Regions from separate parts of the Homo sapiens genome. Here region 2 is linked to region 1. Evidence: promoter capture Hi-C in 16 types of primary human blood cells and fetal thymus (Javierre and others, 2016). All regions are on one chromosome and are shown on one strand. The core of a region is centred on a gene start or on the middle of the fragment in contact, and the rest is flanking DNA. Distances in the headings are between cores, read along the strand shown.

Evidence for each region. The method cuts DNA at HindIII sites, captures the fragments that hold promoters and counts their contacts. A CHiCAGO score of 5 or more calls a contact.
Region 2: a fragment that was not itself captured here is called in contact with the fragment with the promoter of MBL2 in region 1 in 1 of 17 cell types (endothelial precursors); the score reaches 6.9 in endothelial precursors.

The regions. Positions count from the first base shown.
Region 1 is chr10:52,771,534-52,774,233 of GRCh38, forward strand. MBL2 (mannose binding lectin 2) reads right to left here and starts at 1,251. Exons shown (of 5, transcript NM_001378373.1): 1 at 1,204-1,251; 2 at 1-111. The coding sequence starts at 102. The HindIII fragment of the contact is 7,250 bases long and covers 1-2,700 here.
Region 2 is chr10:51,008,115-51,010,814 of GRCh38, forward strand. It overlaps a transcript of PRKG1 not described here. Among named protein-coding and RNA genes, the nearest start is that of PRKG1, 65 kb to the right of the region's middle. The HindIII fragment of the contact is 249 bases long and covers 1,179-1,427 here.

The sequences.
Region 1 (2,700 bases), core at 1-2,500:
TGCAGGGCAGGTCTTTTGGGCATCCTCACAGGTCACAGTTTCTGAGTAAGACGCTGCCACCATACTCAGGAGAAGGAGAGGGAGTGATGGAAACAGGGACATGGTCCTCACCTTGGTGTGAGAAAACTCAGGGAAGGTTAATCTCAGTTAATGAACACATATTTACCGAGCATGCCCTCTGTCCTACAATCTGGGTGCAGGCTATATAGAAATAGATGACCCATCCCTGGCCTCTAGCTGGGGATTTGGAAAAGTAAACATTCCTTGTGACACTGCGTGACTAGTACTTTAACAAAGGTAGGCACTATGATGAGCAGTGGGGATCCTAAGGAGGGGTTCATCTGTGCCTAGACACCTGGCGTTGCTGCTGGAAGACTATAAACATGCTTTCGGTGGCAGTGAGAACAAATGGGACCGTGCATTGCCAGCTGGCTTATGCCTGTTAGCTTAGGGAATGAGAATGAGTGGAAACCCAGGTGTCTGTAGGAGCTTCCTCTTTCTCTCCATGTCCTCTTCGGGTCCATCTGCCACCTGAATCCCATCTTTGTATCTGGGCAGCTGATTCCCCTCCAGGACCTGTTAACTATCATTTACTCATTGGCAGGCCCTGAGCTGAAAGCTGGTGATCCAAAGAGGAAGGTCTCAACCTCAGATCAACCTCAACCTTAGTCACCAACCCAGCCCAGAATTAACTGGAGTTTGCTTCCCCTTGGTGTTTTAGACAGGCTTGCCTGGGTAAGCATTTTCTCTGGAAATTTCTTACTACGTTGGCCCTGGCAGAGTGCTAAATACCTCTCTACTTTCTGGCAGGAATTCCCCATGTTCTGTGAGTCAAAAACCACTGGCAATTAGAAAACTTGCCTTGAATCCTCCTCCCATTTCTCAGTATTAACCTTTCATTTGTTCTTCAGAGCTTTCTTCCAGCTATTGCCCCCTAAGAAACCTCAGCAGCCTAGCCCCATAGGTCTAAGCCTCCAAGTTTCCCTTTGAAAACAAAGACAGTCTCCACTGCAGATGAACAGATAATGGAGGAAAGTCACAGATGCTCCAGCACAAGCAGAAAAAGAGACATCCTCAACCTGATTTCTGCTTTCCATCCCACTCCCCCCACCCCTAGAAAGCCTCCTCCATGCCTCCAGGGTCATGTCAGCTCCCCAAACCCTTGATCCGGAAACCCAGATTTATTCACCAGAAATGACTTACTGGTGTTTCTGCAGAGCAGGGACTCAGTGACAAGGACGCTGGCCCTCTAGCCTGGGGCTCTGGCAGATGCCTCAGAGTGAGGGAGGAGGCTGGGCTCAGCAATGTAGGGCCCAATCAACCTTGTGAACAAGGATATCCTGGGCCTGGCCTTCAACTCCAGATTAATAAACAGCTCTTCTCAGAACTATGAGAAATTTAGGAGCCTCCAATACAGTGCTCGGCAGCTGTCTGCTTTAATACAGCACAATTCCTCTTTCAATTGCCATCCATTTTGGCAAATCTCATTGCTGAACTACCACAGCTAGGTTCACCTAGTTAGTCCTGTTGACATCCTTGTTTCCAACAGAAAAACAAAGATACTCACAAATGCATACACATGCTCATGCACACCAACTATACACACAGACACGTGCATGCACGCACACACCCATCCATGAAACCACATAGACCTCTTGCTGCCATTAATGCATTAAGGCCATTCCTGCCTCAGACTCTTCATTTGATGTCTCCATGCCTGGACCCCTTACGGGCATCGCCAGCTAGCTCTTTCTCTTCTATTCAAATATTCCAATTTCAGAGAAATCAGTACCTTGATCACTTATTCTAAAATAGTCCTACCTAGCAGTCTCTATCCTCTTAGCCTGAATTATTTTCTCTCATGTTACTTACACTTTATGATATTATAGTCATTGACTTTACTTTTCCAGTTTTTCATTGTGGTAAAATAGACATAAAATTTACCATTTTGACCATTATTATTAAGCACACAACTCAGTAGCATTAAGTACATTCACACGGTTGTGCTATCATCACCACATCATGGGATGATTTTCATCATCCCAAACTGAAACTCTCAACTCATTAAACTAGAATTCTCCATTTACCCCTACCCACAGCCACTGGTAACTTCTGTTTTACTTTCTGTCTCTCTGAATTCATCTATCCTAGGTACCTCATATATGTGAAATCATACAATAGCCCCCTTGTATCTGGCTTATTTCACTTAGCACAATGTCTTCAAATTTCATCCTCATAACAAGAATTGTAAACTGTGTTAAAGACTTTGGGTTTCCTTCCAGGGGGCACTAGAGGGACTGCAGTAGTGGAGAGGTGATCACATTTGAATTTTGCAAGGCTTGTTCTGGCTATGATGTTGAGGGGAACAGGACTGGAGAAAAGCAGATCTAAAAGGAAGTGCTTGCCATGATCTAAGCAGCAGAAGACAGTGGCCTGGGTCAGGGTAATGGCAGCTAGATTAAGAAGGTAGGCACACTTGAGAAACAGGAGGTATTGATTGCACTTGAGAATTAGCTAGAATAGTGAGTGATAATAAGAAGTTTTCATGGGCACACACATTTATGACTTGACTATCTAGGAGCCACTCAACTGAGATAAGAAGCAAAAGAACAGCACTTGGCACTATAAGATCATGGGTATCGTGTGTGTTAATGGCTTGAACCATCTTGCTGTGGTTAATGGGGACAATCTAGAAGGGAT
Region 2 (2,700 bases), core at 53-2,552, 1.8 Mb before region 1:
TTCAGATCATTCATATGCCCAGTTCTTCTCAAACTGTAGTACGTATAAACATCTCTTGGGTTCCATTTGTTGCAGTGAAGACTCCTAGGCCCATCTCCAAAGATTCTGGCTTAATAGGTAGGCTTGGGGAATTTGGGACCAGGAAATTTGCTATAACTCCTTGAGAAGTAGCTTTCTAGGTATATACTGCAAGAAGGGTGACTATATGCATTCATTTCTTAGTTCTGCTGGAACACATCGCCACAAACTGGGTGGCTTCAAGCAACAGAAATTTATTTACTCCCAGCTCTGTAGACTAGAAGTTCGAATTCAAGGTGTCAGCAGAGCCATGCTCTTTCTGAAAACCCTAGGAGAGGAGCTTCCCTTGCCTCTTTCTAGCTTCTGGTGGTTGCTGGCAACCTTAACCATTCCATGACTTGGACTTGCATTCCAATCTTTGCCTTCATTTTCACATGGTTGTCTTTTCTCTGTGAGTATGTGTGTCTAAATTCCCCTCTTGTAAGATTACTAGTCATTCAATTTGGGGCCCACCCTAATCCAATATGATGTCGTCTTGATTACATCTATAAAGATGCTGTGTTCAAATAAGGTCACAGTTGTACCATACACCTGTATTTATCTTCCTTCAAGCCCAAGATATGGAGCTGTGACTTCTGAAGTCTGCTGAGCCCATGGAAAAAAAAGATTTTGGATGAGATGAAGAGAGTAAAGGACACATTTAGGTATTTATGATACAAGGTTTTGTGGAGGCTTTTTCACCTGCCATTTCCATCTGCCCTCCCTCCTTCTCCCATTTTCTTATTTTTCAAAGGATATGGTGTTGATTGATTGTCCTTTGGTTCAGATGAAAGTATTAGTCTCTGGTGGCTCCATGAAATGTCACACATCTCTGATGGTTTGTGGTTCTCTTGTTTTCATGGTATGAGTTTTATAAGGATTTATAGGGAAACAAAATTGGGCTTAAAATGTGAGACAACTTCTGTAGACTGTAGTTTTCTTACCTGTAATTTTAGAAGGAAAAAAAACCCTTCTATGCTATAATTTCAATGCCTTAATTCCCTATAATTTTGGTAACTTGTTTCTTTAGGGTTACAAAGAACAAATGGAATAAACCACAAATAGATATATTAGGATAAAGATAGATTTTCTTTGGTGTATTTATCTAACTAATTTAGAAAAGCTTTAAATGCCAATTAAATTATACATTTTGAAACACAGTTATATTTAGGGATAAACTATTTTTAAGTTAACATTATTCTCTGCATTTAAAAGTAGAATTTAAATAGTTCTCCCACCTCCACCTCAATCTAAGGTGCACACACATACTTTTAGCTTTACTAGAGGGTTTTTGTTAATGTAGTCTATAACAGAAATTGAGGATTTCTGTTATGGTATTTCTATTTTACTATCATACCACTGAAAAGTTAAGCTTTCTCTTAAGAATATAAGAAAAATTTAAGAGACAGCATGAGCTAGTTGAATAGTCTTATTAGTGAATTAGTTTTATATAAAATAAATTATACAATGGACATTCCAGTTATCATCTGAAAATATAATTTAGAAATTTATGATAATATATTTCTTTCTGGGTCTATTTAATTCAGAAACATTCTCATACAAGGTGGTTCAAAGAATCCAGATTTCTGGGAATGGTTTTGGACTTCTTGAAGATATAAAATATTTGACAATGCATTGTTCAATATGGAATCGTACTTTTGGAAAGAAAATCTGCCAGAACATTCATGCTACCCAGAGAGAAGTATCATTCTCCATTCTCCTCAAAATTGTATCTTCTTTGCTTTGATTCTCATACGCCTGCTATCAGAGATTTTGGAAAGTTTCTCTTCTCTTTATTGTAAAAGATCTCAGGTATAATTCAAATGGTTATTTCATTTTATAGAAACTTTACTGGAAATGTCCAAGTGCCTTCAGCAGTGGAAGGAGGGGTCAGGAGAGGGTGGCTCCACTGGGAAGCATGATTGGCCTCTGATTTGTGGGAATTTTCCAGGGCCATTGTTTGTGCGAAGTTGTGTTAAGAATGTAGGTTGAAAGGTAGATGTGGAATTCCATGGAGCACGTGCAGAAAAGCGAATTCTACTACCCAGCGTAAATCATTCGCTCTACATTAAGCATCTTTGCCAATTATTTGGGTGAGGCCATTAATGGCATCTCACTCAGATTTGCACAGGGCAAGATGCTGTGAGGATTGCTTATTATGTTGGAAAACAGAATCAAGATCCCAAAAGATTATGATGGGCAAGAGTAGTGATTTATAACCCTATTTCAGACAATGCTTTCCTTTTCATACCAGATATTTCCTAATGCTCCCTCACTATGCTGAAATTAAATTCATCAATAATATAACCCATCTGCACACATAATTGTGTGTATCTATGCATATATATATATGTGGTATCCTAACTATAATATAAACAAAAGATAGGGGAACATGTATCATGAAATAATACTTGCTTTAGTAAGTGCTTGAACTGTCCAAGTTGGAGATGATTGCTGGAAAAGGGCTACACAGTAAGTTGAACTGAAGATGTGAAGTGCTTGTTCCTAATCCTGAAATCATTTGATGTAACAACTGAAAACAAATACTAGTACTGATGTGTTTTACAGGTTACTCTGGTGCCACTGGTGGTGTTTGTATCAAGTGACTCAGTTTTCCAAAGTGATGAACATCTCTCTGTAAAG